Regions from separate parts of the Homo sapiens genome. Here region 2 is linked to region 1. Evidence: promoter capture Hi-C in 16 types of primary human blood cells and fetal thymus (Javierre and others, 2016). All regions are on one chromosome and are shown on one strand. The core of a region is centred on a gene start or on the middle of the fragment in contact, and the rest is flanking DNA. Distances in the headings are between cores, read along the strand shown.

Region 1 (7,348 bases), core at 1,795-4,294:
AAAGCATTTAGAATTCCTCAAGGTCCAAGATTCTTTCTTCACAATCTTCTTCCAAAGTGAATGTTTAACTTGCGTATCTATAGCCAGGGTTAGTCAACTGTTATCCTGGACTTATCTCAAAATGAATACACTCCCTGTCTGTTTTACATAATAGAGTGTGCCTCTAATGGGGGAGGGAGGGAGGCCTGATTAGATTCTTGAAATTCACCTTCACAAATGCTTTTTTTTTTTTTTTTTTAAAAAGACAGAATCTTGCTCTGTTACCCAGGCTGCAGTACGATGGGGTGACTTCAGGTCACTGCAACCTCCACCTCCTGGGTTCAGCCACTTGAGTAGCTAGGATTACAGGCATGTGCCACCACGCCCGACTAATTTTTGTTATTATTAGTAAAGATGGGGTTTTGCCATGTTGGCCAACTTGAGGCCAGGGCTGGTCTCGAACTCCTGGCCTCAAGTGATCTGCCTGCCCCAGCCTCTTAAAGTGCTGGCATTATAGGCGTGAGCCACCACACCTGGCCTACAAATACGTTTTAAGCAACATTAAATCAATTCCCTAAGCATTTGAGCTCCAATTATATCCAAGACACTGATAATCTAGGAGGGAAGAGAGATTCCTGTACAATCACAGAGATAATGTAGAACAACAAAGCTTTGGGGCAAGTTTGTCCTGCCTAGGAATTTGGAGGCATTTTTTATTCCAAACAAGCCTGCAGGTAAATCCAGATGTGGACCAGTAGTGACAGGTACTTCCTAACAAAACAAGACCTACAAAAAAGAGAATCTAAGAGGATCTACAGTGATGGGTTTAATCAATAAAAAGCTCATAAATTTAGAGCTTAAATGAACCAGCTGAATTTCTGCTAAGGCAGCATTACATGTCCCAGGCCACAAAATCTATTTCCTCTAACATGACAATAGCTAACATTTATTGGGCACTTGCCATGCATCAGGAGCTGTTTAACTGTGATATGCATGAAACTCATGTAACTCTACCATAACAATCCTATGACATTAGTGCTTGTCCCCATTTTATAGATGAGAGAACAGGCAGAGGTTTATTTTCCAGGGTTGGCTGAGTGCTACAGCCAAGATCTGAACCAAAGCAGTGTGGTTACAGGGACCATGGTCTTAATCATTAGGTGAGACTTCCTAACACACTTTGTGGTTACAGATGAAAGCCCTGGACATGATCACTTTGGCTGCACGGGAAGCATCCTCCCAGAGTGGTGCTCTGCGCCACATTCCCCTATGTGCCACCAACAGTAATAAAATATAATAAAAACAATCAAATAAACACAGCACAGACAGAAGCAGACCTCTGCCCAGGTAACTTCCACCACAATTCCCTTACCAAAGACCTCTTTCCTTATTTTGCTAAGATTAACAACTGATTTTTCAGTACTATGCCAACAACATTTCTTCTCAAGCTTTGCTGTCAATTCCATTGTGACCCACAGTTTAATTTAAAACCGATGTTGATTCACTGAGCTAGTAATTTTATTCGGTAATAGGTGAATTACTCCATAGTTGAGTGTGAATAACCGCCTGGTTAAATCAGGGCGGGTTTCTTAGAGGTGATACACTTACCGTTGAGCACAACTTTACTCTTTAATTATCGTGTACATTCCCATTTCCCTCCAAACACGTCAGTCCCTCTCCACACAGTGTTTACTTCTTTGGTCCTAGGGACAGCAAGAAACATTTTATAATAAAAGAGCACATGCTAATGTGTTTACTAGATATGACACTGCTGTGCAAAACTGTTTTCTTTTATGGCTGCACTGAAAGCATGCTAAGTTTACTGAATTCTTATTAAGTGTCCTAAGTAACAGAAATAGAAACTAGGTCTGGCCTGAAAATACCATTCACTTAAGTTAGAATTTATGTGCGCTCCTCTAGGTCCGCTATTGTAGTATCACTGCAAAACAATAATACTTTATCTCTGCACTTGTCTTTATTGGATTAATATTAAACAGAAAAAAATCCGACTGCACAGGGGAAAAAACCTAAAACCTTAACATGCATGCACATTAACAGTGACTGAAACATGATTAAAGCTAACACATTTAGCAGAAAAATGCAATCCCCAAACAAGCTCTGCGGCCCGCCTACTGAAATGCACCCGCCCGCCACTAAATGAAAATGCGCCTCAAGCTCATACACATCCTTATGTTAAGACAGTATGCACTCGATGTACTACAAATAAATTGTTTTCACGGAAATGATTCCCCGAAAGTTTGCTGCTGAACTCAGGACCCTAAGGACGTTTGCTTAGGGAATCCGTGTCCCTCGAGAACACCTAAGATGGGTATGCGTTTGTGCATTTAAAAATGCCTCAAGGAACTATTGCTGAGGAACAGAAACCATCGCCGGCGCAGAAGCGTTCGCGGACCACTTGGAGATAGATGCCAGTACAGCAATTCTGTTCCAGGAGGCTTCGGCTTAAGAGGGCCGGGGAGGAGGAGAACCCTCGGGAAATAGCAAAAAAAAAAAAAGATTTTTCTTTTTCACTCCAGCGACAGGAAAGCCTTAAAAACATAAGCAGCTCTCATACCCACCCGCCTCACCAGCCGCGCCTCGCAGTTCGACAAAATGCGTCCTAGCCTTCGCCACTCGCGACCTCTACCGCGCAGAGCCAGGCAATGAGGGAAAACAGCCAGCGAGGCCCGCCCTCCGGTGCAAGGCTCGGCATCCGCGGAGGCCCAGGGCCGGCCCCGGTGCGGCGGGCAGAAGCAAGCGCGGCGGCCCGGCCCAGCTCCGGTGGGCGGACGGCGGGACGCGCGAGCCGGCGGGGCCCGAGGCCCGGGTTCCGGGGCCGCCCGCGACTGCGTCTTTGCCGCAGAACAAAAGCGCTCTGCGCCGCGCGCAGGCCCGGACCGCGAGTGCCTCTGGCTCCCGGCTCCCGGCCCCCGCCCCGCCCGGACCCCGGAAGGCGGAGGGACCTCGGGGTGCTCGTCTCACACTTACCGACAAAGGGAAGAGGACCACCCCGGCAAGCGGGGAGAAAACCGGCGGCCTCCCGGGCCCCAGAGTTTAAGTCAAGTGGGGTCCGCCTCCAGGGGCGGGTCGAGGAGCCAGGCCCAGGATCCAGGAACAGCTACGCTCCGCCTCACGCCCGAGGCGGTGGCTGCGAGGGCCGCGCCGCCGCGGTCCTAGTGCCACCAGAGAAGCCGCGGACCCGGCCCGCAGATAACACCCGGGCTTGCAGAGCGCTTTCATCTGCCCGACGCGGAAATCTCCTGCAGCGATCTTCTACCTTCAGCGTGCATCCGCAGCACCCAGAGGGCACGTTAAAGAGAGATTGAGAACCACCAGCAAAACTGCTGATTCAGTAGGTTTGGGGTGGGGCTGAAAAATGTGCATTTCTAACAAGTTCCTGAGACCGACTGTTGCTGCTGGCCTCAGGACCAATTTTTTCTATAAAGCGCATGGAAGTCAGAGTGCACCCAAGAGATTGTTAACCCTTAAAAAACAGAAAAAAAAAAAAGAAATCAACAAGTTAGAGGCAAATAAGTGTGAAAGAAAGTGGATAGTCTATTTGGGGATTCTGAAAGTCCCTGAGGAAAGTTGACTTTGGAGACCAGATCACGAAGCACGACCTCTTAATTGCCGACCTTTTGTTATAGATTAACTCCCTTATTTTCTTGTTCCCAGCTCAGACCAGATGGCATCTGAGATAAAATACGCATTGAATAAGATAAATGACCGCTTGACTATTACATCCTTAATGTGGAATGTTAAATAGACCCTTCCCAAAAAGAAACACTGCCTTGAACCAATCAAATTGCTATGCGTTAACCTTCTATGGAAAATGTTGACATCCTGTTAAGCTTCCCAGACCCTGCCTGTGTAAACGACCCTCAAACTTCTCCCTTTCGAAGCACTGACCCCCATCTTTTGGAGTCTGTGTCCTACCGGGTCGCCATCCTCAAACTTTGCACTCAAATAAACCAATATTTAATCATATTGCCCGAATCTCATTATTAAGGTTTACGTAAGCGTTTACTTAGTAATGAAGGTTGCAACCAGGATGGCAAATCAGAGATTGTGCCACTGGAGAGGGGCAAGGGAGCTTATGTTTATAGGAATTTATTTGTTACATAAATTGTCAGATTAGTTCATTGGTGAATTAAACGAAGAAGTCTTTAGTCATTACTAGAAGAGTGCGTTTGCGTCTGTCAGAAACAAAACAAAAAAACTACATACAGAATATTCTTTCTTTTTTGGGGGGGGGACGGAGTCACGCTCTGTCGCCCAGGCTGGAGTGCAGTGGCACGATCTCGGCTCACTGCAAGCTCCGCCTCCCAGGTTCACGCCATTCTGCTGCCTCAGCCTCCCAAGTAGCTGGGACTACAGGCGCCCGCCACCATGCCCGGCTAATTTTTTGTATTTTAGTAGAGACGGGGTTTCACCATGTTAGCCAGGATGGTCTCGATCTCCTGACCTCTTGATCCGCCCGCCTTAGCCTCCCAAAGTGCTGGGATTACAGGCATGAGCCACCGCGCCCGGCCAGAATATTCTTAAAGATTGGGGGTGGCCAGGTGTGGTGGCTCAGGCCTGTAACCCCAGCACTTTGTGTCACGCGCATCCGTGTGAAGAGACCACCAAACAAGCTTTGCGTGAGCAACAAGACTGTTTATTTCACCTGGGTGCAGGCGGGCTGAGTCCGAAAAGAGAGTCAGCAAAGGGTGGTGGGATTATCTTTAATTCTTATAGGTTTTGGGAGAGGCTCCGCGGAACAATGTTTTGCGGGCAGGGGGTGGATCTCACAAAGTACATTCTCAAGGGTGGGGAGAATTACAAAGAACCTTCTTAAGGGTGGGGGAGATTACAAAGAACCTTCTTAAGGGTGGGGAGAATTACAAAGAACCTTCTTAAGGGTGGGGGAGATTACAAAATACATTGATCTGTTAGGATGGGGCAGAAACAAATCACAATGGTGGAATGTCATCAGTTAAGGCTATTTTCGCTTCTTTTGTGGATCTTCAGTTGCTTCAGGCCATCTGGATGTATACGTGCAGGTCACAGGGGATATGATGGCTTAGCTTGGGCTCAGAGGCCTGACAGTTTGGGAGGCTGAGGTGGGTGAATCACTTGAAATCAGGAGTTTGAGACCAACGTGACCAACATGGTGAAACCCTGTTTCTACTAAAAATATAAAAATTAGCCAGGCGTGGTTGTGGGCACCTGTAATTCTCAGCTACTCGGGAGGCTGAGGCGGGAGAATTGCTTAAACCCAGGAAGCAGAGGTTGCAGTGAGCCGAGATCACGCCACTGCACTCCAGCGTGGGCCACAGAAAGAGTCTGTCTCATGAAACAAAACAAACAAAAAAAGATTGGGGATCAGGCGTGGTGGCTTATGCTTGTAATCCCAGCACTTTGGGGAGGATCACTTGAGGCCAGGAGTTTGAGAGAGCAGCCTTGCCAACATGGTGAACCCAATCTCTACAAAAAATATACAAAAAACAAAAAAAATTAGCCAGGAGTGGTGGCATGCGCCTGTAGTCCCAGCTACTTGGGAGGCTGAGATGGGGGGATCACTTGAGCTTGGGAGGCAGAGGTTGCAGTGAGCCAAGATTGAGCCACTGAACTCCGGCCTGGGTGACAGAGTAAGAGCCTGTCTCGGAAAATAATAATAATAATAATAATAATATTGAGACCAGCTTTCTTGGGTTGTGTGTTGTTGCAAAAACGGTTGTGTTAGATATGAATTCTAAATTTCTCTTCAAAGAATCAATATGTCAGTATGGTCAATCTTTGCCTTTTACTTTTAAACTTAACTTCCTCGTAAAGCAACCTTTTTCCATCACCTGCTCCACCCTGACTCATTTCAATCACCTGCTCCACCCTGACTCATTCCGATTTCCTGCCCCGCCTTAACCATTTTTCCTGCCAAACCGCTCACCCCATCACTCTCTTTAAATTAGCCAATCAGAATTAGTTTAGCCTGTGCGGTCTAACCCTAGCCAACAGGGGAACGACACAGCAGCAGAGGCCACGTGCATCAGGAATAAGAACCCCTTCCCCTCCCTTGCCCAGGTGTGAGCTCACCATTGCTCCATCTGTGAGGGCGCACCCGTCTATAGAAGTACATTGCCGCCGGGCGCAGTGGCTCACGCCTGTAATCCCAGTACTTTGGGAGGCCGAGGCAGGCGGATCATGAGGTCAGGAGATCAAGACCATCATGGCTAACACTAAAAAATACAAAAAATTAGCTGGGCGTGGTGGCAGGTGCCTGTAGTCCCAGCTACTCCGGAGGCTGAGGCAGGAGAATGGCATGAACCCGGGAGGCGGAGCTTGCAGTGAGCCGAGATTGCGACACGCACTCCAGCCTGGGCGACAGAGCAAGACTCTGTCTCAAAAAAAAAAAAAAAAGAAGTACATTGCCTTGCTGAGAATTAAAAAGAAAATTTATATTCGAGTGCTATTTCTTTTGCAACACCAAAACTTTATTTATAACAGTTGTTTGTGAAGGAAATATTTTTCACAGTTTCTTCGTGGGCCTCAAAGTTTAGCAGCAGCTCAGCATGGAGTCAATAGCCCAAGATGGAGTCACTGATATCAAGCCTGGAAAATTGCTAAGCTGCATTAAGGAGACTTTTTTTTTTTTTCATGCTATTGTAGTAAGGACAACATCCATTAATGCAGAGGAATCTTTTCAAAGAAAATGAAATAGACTTAGGGTTTTTATAGGAGGAAGTAAACAAGGAAATCTTGTCTGAATGATTAAGGGATGAGAAAGGGCAGAGGTGGTTAGTTAGTGCTTGTGACATAAGAGGGCAGACTATTCCTTTGCGCTTGAGGTTTGTTGGTTTTGGTTTTTAATTTTTGTAGTCTTCAGTATCTCCTATATCCACCACCATCACCACCTCCTCCATATGGATCTACATAATCTTTTCCACCATAATCTCCCCTCCCACCATCATCTCCTCTGCCTTAGAAACCTCCTTTACCACCTCCATCCCACCTCCTCCCTCTCCCCCACCACTTTCCCATCCTCCTCTACCCCAGCCAACTCTTCCACCTCCACCCCCACAGCCTCTTCTACTACCACCTCTACCTCCACAACCACCACCCCAACCACCCCTTCCGCCACTGCCTTCTTGTCTCTTTTGCCAAGGGGGCATTTCAGAGGGTGGTGGTTCAATTTCATTTGGCCAGCCTCCCCTGTCAGGCACCCTTCCCATCAGCACCTTATTAATGGCACATGCCATCATCTGGCTGGCTCCACTGCTTGTCCTAATGATCTTGGATAGATTATCATGAGCAGCAAGTAGATGCACCATTATAATCGCTGTCTTGGGTGACAAAGCATAACACTGAGGCTGGTAAATTCTTGCTGTGTCAT
Region 2 (7,348 bases), core at 1,555-4,054, 70 kb before region 1:
CTGGCACAAAACAAGTATATGACAGGAGCAAGAAGATGCAAGTAAAAATGGTTTGATCTATGGACATAAACAAAGACCAACCGAAAGAGAACAATCAAAGGCTATTTATCCAGAGCCTGCTACAGCAAGAGCGTCAGTCACAGTCACTTGTGTTTTGGCAAAGACTCAAAGGCAGGCAGAGGAGTGGGAAATTTTTATAGTGGAAAAAGAGAAGGTTTCAAGTATGCCCTGATAGCTGCCAGCTTTGCCTGTCACGGGACTCATGACTATAACCCCAGCACTTTAGGAGGCTGAGGCAGGAGGATTTCTTGACCCCAGGAGTTTGAGACCAGCCTGGGCAACACAGTGAGATCTCATCTCTACAAAAAATTAAAAATAAAATTAGCCAGGCTTGGTGGCAAATGCCTGTAGTCCCAGCAACTTGGGAGGTTGAGGTGGGAGGACTGCATGAGCCTGGGAGGCTGAGGATACAGTGAGCCATGATCGTGCCACTGCAACTCCAGCCAGGGTAACAGAGTGAGACCCTGTCTCAAGTAACTGCCAGCTTCTCTCATTTCTGTCCCAGCTTCCAATTTAGGACCCACAGGAGAAAGCCAAATATGCACCCCTAACCAATCCCATAGGATGCGCCTCTTCTAGTTAGCTGCCTACAGCTTCTCCAGGTCGACAGCGTCCAATCAGGGTAGACCTGAAACTTTTTGCTTTTTCCACTATCAAGTTTTCGCAGTCCTCTGCTTGACTTTGACTTTTTACCAAATGCACATGATGGTGGCTCTCTCTCTTGCTATATAGCAAGCTCTGATTAGATAGCCTTTATTTGTTCTCCTGTAGGTGGTCTTTATTTCCATACAATCAAGTCTAAGCTGCTACCTGGACTATCTCAAGCCTCCTAAATGGTCTCACTCTTCAACTCTTCTCTGATAAATAAGTTGATGCCAGTTATCTAAATCTTTCAAAGTATATAAAACATAGAGTTGATGATGAAAATTTTGCACTGTGTTTGTGCCTGCCATCTTCAGTGCCTCCATCCCTACTTCTGACTCTGTAGTGTATGCCCGGCTGATTTCCATGACAAGGTTTGCTCTGGCAGCCTGAACTGTAACACTCCCCCAGCAGTTCATAACCAGCTCCCTCACTCATCCTGTGGGTAAGTCTGGGTCATGCTCTCTACACTGAGTCCCAGGGTTCTGCAGCAAGATGCAGCTACAGTTGCTCACAGTGGCAGCTGGATTGATAGCTCACCCTTTTCTTAACTGCTTTTCCCTTCCATCCTTATCTCACGTCGCCAGTCCTCCACCAGTGTTTCCTGAGATCACCTCCCAGTGAATTATTAATACTTGCTTTCAAATCCTTTCTCAGGGTGTGTGTCTGTGGGAACCCAAGAGAATACAGCCAGAATTAGAAATAACTCAAATCACCTTATTCAAATAACTAACAACTACAGGAGGAAGAGGAGACCAAATTGCCACTTCCCGCATAGGTTTTCACTAATATATATGCTTGGCAAGAATAAGGAAAAGAGAGTACCCAAGTTATTTTAAAAAGAAGTAAAAAAAAGAAAAGAAGAAAAATTGTTAATGCCATTTACAATTTCAAAAATGACTGCATGTGGTTCATTAACAAGCATTTTCTAATCATAAATAAGTTGCATCACTCCGTGCAGTTATTTAAGGCTGTTGAATTCATACAAAACTAGAGGTAAAAGATTACAATGCAGATGACTAAAGGCAGAATTAGCAGTAAAATAATTTGATGGAGGAGACAAATGGCTTTACATGGAATGGAAGAAAACCTGACAGAAAATCTATCACTTGTGGTAAATGGGGGAGTATTGTACCATTAGTAAAATAGTAATATTAAAAACAAAAAAGCAAATGTTTGTTTGTTTTTGAGACAGAGCTTTGCTCTGGTTGCCCAGGCTGGAGCACAATGGCACAATCTCGGCTCACTGCAACCTCCGCCTCCGGGGTTCAAGCGATTCTCCTGCCTCAGCCTCCCAAGTCGCTGGGATTACAGACGTGTGCCACCACGCCCATCTAATTTTTGCATTTTTTTTTTAGTAGAGACGGGGTTTCAGCATGCTGCCCACGCCGGTCTCGAACTCCTGACCTCATGTGATCCACTTGCCTTGGCCTCCTAAAGTGCTGGGATTATAGGCGTGAGCCACCCCACTCGGCCTATTTATTTCTTTTGAGACAGGGTCTGGCTCTGTCACCCAGGCTGGAGTGCAGTGGTGAGATTACGACTCACTGCAACTTCCACCTCCTAGGCACAAGGGATCCTCCCACCTCAGCCTCTTGAGCAGTTAGGACTACAAGCTCATGACACCACACCCGGATAATTATTTTATCTTTAGTAGAGATGAGGGCTCACGATGTTGCCCAGGCTGGTCTTGAACTCCTGGCCTCAAGAAATCTACCCACCTTGGCCTCCCAAAGTGCTGGGATTACAGGTGTGAACCACCACACCCAGCTTAAAATACCTTTAATTAACTTCAAAAATAGCAGCAATAAATACAATTATTAATTAATTTATTTTTATTTATTTATTTTTGAGACAGAGTTTCACTCTGTAGCCCAGGCTGCAGTGTGGTGGTGTTATCTTGGCTCACAGCAACCTCTCCCTCCTGGGTTCAAGCGATTCTCCTGCCTCAGCCTCCCAAGTAGCTGAAATTACAGGCATCTATCACCATGCCCAGCTAAATTTTTTATATATATATATATTTAGTAGAGATGGGGTGTCACCATGTTGGCCAGGCTGTTCTCAAATTCCTGACCTCAAGTGATCCACCCACCTCGACCTCCCAAAGTGCTAGGATTACAGGTGTGAGGCTGTGCACAGGGCCTCTTTCTTTCCTTCCTTTCTTCCCTTTCTTTTCTTCTTTCTTTCTCTTTCTTCCTTTCCTTTCTTCCTTTCTTTCCTTTCCTTCCTTCCTCCCTCTTTCTTTCCTTTCTTCCTTTCTTCTTTCTTTCTTTTGCTTTCTTTCTTTCCTTTTCCTTTCTTCCTTTCCTGTCTTCCTTTCTTTCCTTTCCTTTCCTTCCTTTCTCCCTCTTTCTTTCCTTTCTTCCTTTCTTCCTTTCTTCTCTTTCTTCCTTCCTTTCTTTCTCTCTTTCTTCTTTCTTTTTCTTTCTCTTTCCTTTTCCTTTCTTCCTTTCCCTTCCTTTCTTTCCTTTCCCTTCCCTTCCTTCCTTCCTCCCTCCCTTCCTCCCTGCCTCCCTCCCGCTCTCTCTTTCTTTCTTTTCTTCTTTCCCTCCCTCCCTCCTTCCTTCCTTCCCTCCTTCCCTCCTTCCCTCCTTCTTTTCTTTCCTACAGGGTCTCTCACTCTCTCACCCAGACTGGAGTGCAGTGGTGCTATCACAGCTCACCACGACCTCTGCCTCTCAGGCTCAAGCAATTCTCTTGCCTAAGCCTCCCAAGTAGCTGGGATTACAGGTGCTCGCCACCATGCCCAGCTAATTTTTGTATTTTTTTTAGTAGAGACAGGGTTTCACCGTGTTGTCCAGGCTGGTCTCAAACTCCTGACCTCAAATGATCCACCCACTTCGGCCTCCCAAAGTGCTGGGATTGCAGGCATGAGCCACAGAGCCTGGCCTACTTATTTTTAAGACCGGGTTTTACTCCCATCACCCAGGCTGGAGTGAAGTGGCGTGATGTGGGCTCACTGCAACCTCCGCCTCCTTGGCTCAAGAGATTCTCCCACCTCAGCCCCATGAGTAGCTGGGATTACAGGCCCACACCACTGCACCCAGCTAATTTACAAATAACACATTTTTATCTGTTTTTTTTTTTTTTTTTAGACGAAGTCTCACTCTGTCACCCAGGCTGGAGTGCAGTGGCACAATCTTGGCTTACTGCAACCTCCGGCCTCCCGGGTTCAAATGATTCTCCTGCCTCAGCCTCCTGAGTAGCTGGGATTACAGGTGTGCACCACCACGTCCTGCTAATTTTTTTGTATTTTTAGTAGAGACAGGTTTTTGTTTGTTTGTTGGTTATATGTAAAAAATGTTTACTTAGAAATAGAATGCTTGTTCCTTGGTGCTACGAAGAAATAGCACTCGAACATAAATTTAATTCTCTTAGCATGGCAATCTTTACTTTTTGCAGAAAGTCAAGTATTCACCACAGATGGAATAATGGCAAGAGCACACCTGAACAATGGAGGGAAGTAATTTTTATCCTTTACGCAGTTTGTCCCTGCTACTGTGTCCTGTCTCCATTGGCTAAAGCCAGACCTCACAATCTAAACTAAAACCTGATTAGCTAACAGTTTAAAACTTTTCTAAATAGGCAAAGGCAATAGAAAGACAAAGGAAAAGAGGAAGTTACTTACGAAAGGACTTAGAAAGGTAATAACATTCTTAAATAAGGAAGGGGCATAGGCTGCGAGCCGGGACAGGCCTGTGCGCATGTCTAGCATACAGTTAGTCTTTAAAAGAAACTACTATTTCTAACACTTATGATTTATTCTTGAACAAGAAGGGAAACTTTGAAGAGGAACTTTTTACTTTCTACAATTTCCTTGTCTTGTTTTTATAGTTTTCTTCTTCAAACTTTTTTTTTTAAATATGTCTTGGCTTAGTTGTTTTGATTAGCTTTTAAATGTATGGTATAACATAACATGACATCTAATAAGGAGAAGTATACTTATTACAGTTGCTAGAGAAGTAAGGACTGAGGCCATGGTCTCTTTCTGTTGGCTGAACTATTTCTCGAGCTAATTTGAAATAGAGTTGTTAATGCTGGAATTTTTTGCTAACTTATTTAATAAGGCAGTAAGTCCTTGGAGGGTCCTTGTTATGCTCCCATTGGGAGCAGTGTTGTTTGGAATAAAGGTGCAACACTGAGTTTTGATTATAATATAAACACTACCTTTCTTTGTTAATATTATATTTAAAGTTATCTTATTTTCTCAGGCCATTTGACTTGTGGGTTTTAATTGTTCAGCTATTTCTTTAACAGCATCTTTGGTATAGTTAATAAATTGCTGCTGGTAGTAATAAATGCAGTTTATTTAATCTACATTTTTATTAATTGCTACTCACTAAAACAACATTGACTTAAACCTTGCAGCTATTTGATCTCTGGTTTTAAATTTATTTGGTACTCTGTGAGGACCTCTAATTGCATCTGAATAGACATGGGAATCAAAATAGCTGTAAGGGGCTGCTTCTTTTGAGGCTTCTTTTATTTGCTTATGTCGTAATTTCTCTTTTTCTGATTGATGAAATGCCAGGGTAAAAGGGATAGCTAATTGAACTAGAGCATAAGTGCTGCTCTAATTATTTGGTAGAGTGTCTAGTAAAGGTTTTTTACAGTATTACTATGCATCCGCTTGGGGATGAATAAGGGTGGACTGATGGGTTAGCTTTTGGAAGTGCCTGACCTCGCTGTATCATGTTAAGTCTTCAAAGTACGCTAAATTTTCCTTTTATCGTTGGAGACACGAGGTAAAATTGGTCTTGGAAGATGGAGGCTGAATGGCCCTCGGGGGGCTGACCCTCAGGGTACTGCACTTTAGGAAATAGTAGAGAGAGTTTGGCACACTTTACTATCTTAGGCTGCAGGATTTTGATACCGGCCGGGTGCAGTGGCTCACGCCTATATCCCAGCACTTTGGGAGGCCGAGACGGGCGGATCACGAGGTCAGGAGATGGAGATCGAGACCATCCTGGCTAACAGGGTAAAACCCCGTCTCTACTAAAAATACAAAAAAAAAAAAAAAAAAAAAGTTAGCCGGGCTTGGCAGCGTGCGCTTGTAGTCCCAGCTACTTGGGAGGCTGAGGCAGGAGAATGGCTTGAACCCGGGAGGTGGAGCTTGTAGTAAGCCGAGATTGCGCCACTGCACTCCAGCCTGGGCGACAGAGCGAGACTCCGTCTCAGATAAAAAAAAGAAAAAAAGACAAAAGAAGAAAAGGAGCTACCATGCAGTCCATGCCTTGTCGATTAGAGGACTATCTGAGTGGAAAGGGGATAACTTGGACTTCTAGCCTACTGTGTGCACAAGCATAACAATTGCTTTTATTTAGAGTGCGGACAGAATATTTAATGTATTTTAGCTAGTCATTTACATCTTGATATCTTGTTTTAATTGCTGTGGTTTGCTTTAGATTTTTTTACTTTTACTACAAAGACTTTGGTTTTGTCATTTGGTATGAGAGGAGTGATAACTGAACAGGCATTAAAAGTAATAATTTGAGGTGAGTTAGATTTAGTTACATTAATAAGATGGGGAGTAGTTAAAGGAAAGAAAAGATAGATAAAGTTTTCTTAGCTTTAACTTGGTAGGGCTTGACCCTGGAACAATGACCTATAACTTTGATGGTGATGACGCTTTTTTGACTTGGGTATGATGTGTCTATCCTTTTCTGCTGTGCGAACGGCAGTCTCGGTGGTTAGCAGCACAAGGTAGGGTTCTTAGGCTGCCTCGAGTTTTTCTTCTTTCTATCTTTTGATGAGGATGTGGTTTCCAGGCAGGTGCTGGTGTACGGCTCCTCTGGTTTGTTTCCTTTCTTGGCTCATGCATGAGGTCGCCTGGTCCACATCATATGTGAGGATCATTTACTCCAGATTGCTGGCCAGTTTCTTCTGCCTTGTTGAGAGTCCGGGTCTATTCATCACACCAGATGGGTCTCAATTTCTTACTACCCCTGAGGCCACCACAATGAGGCAGTGGGAGACCCCCTCATGAGAGGACTAGAGACCACCCCAGAGGAAAATGTATCCCTGTACGGACCACCATTTCTTATATGTAAAAATGTTTATTTAGAAATAGAATGCTTGTTCCCCAGTGCTACAAAGAAATAACATTCAAACATAAATTTAATTCTCTTAGCAAGGCAAACTTTACTTTATGCAGAAAGGGGCTCATAGCAGATGGAATAATGGCGAGAGCACCAGTAGAGACAGGTTTTCACCATGTTAGCCAGGCTGGTCTTGAACTCCTGAGCTCAAGTGATCACCTGCCTCAGGCTCCCAAAGTGCTGGGATGGAAAAGGAGAGTGCCTTGGATTGGCCCTGGCGAAGCAGGGACCATCCCTTTATCTGCACAGGGCGCCAGTTCACCTCAGTCTTTAATTTGCCACAGACCAAATCCTTCATCTAGATAAGAACCTCAAATGAGGTACTTAAAGCCCAGAAAGCTTTGTAACTGCACCCTTGAGCTGCTTGCTCAGGCCCACTCCCACCCTGTGAAGTGCTTTCTCGCTTTAATGAATTCCTGCTCTCGTTGCTTCATTCCTGCATTTCATTTCTCTGCTACTTCGTACGTTTTGTTCAATTCTTTGTTCAAAATGCCAAGGACCTGGACAACTCGTAGTCAAGACCCTCTACCAGTAACACTTGTTGCTCC

Evidence for each region. The method cuts DNA at HindIII sites, captures the fragments that hold promoters and counts their contacts. A CHiCAGO score of 5 or more calls a contact.
Region 2: a contact is called between a fragment that was not itself captured here and the fragment with the promoter of RESF1 in region 1, in 3 of 17 cell types (naive CD4 T cells, non-activated CD4 T cells and naive CD8 T cells). The highest score is 7.0, in naive CD4 T cells.

The regions. Positions count from the first base shown.
Region 1 is chr12:31,955,111-31,962,458 of GRCh38, reverse strand. It overlaps RESF1 (retroelement silencing factor 1), which reads right to left and starts at 3,044. Exons shown (of 6, transcript NM_018169.4): 1 at 2,968-3,044; 2 at 1,588-1,682. LOC105369725 (a long non-coding RNA gene) reads left to right here and starts at 3,155. Exons shown (of 2, transcript XR_931503.2): 1 at 3,155-3,331; 2 at 3,655-3,966. It also overlaps the pseudogene LOC100132543. RefSeq lists silencers at 331-390, 2,734-3,073 and enhancers at 4,126-4,919, 4,923-5,422. The HindIII fragment of the contact is 2,403 bases long and covers 1,430-3,832 here.
Region 2 is chr12:32,025,180-32,032,527 of GRCh38, reverse strand. No RefSeq gene overlaps it. Among named protein-coding and RNA genes, the nearest start is that of RESF1, 69 kb to the right of the region's middle. RefSeq lists an enhancer at 7,239-7,348. The HindIII fragment of the contact is 8,674 bases long and covers 1-7,141 here.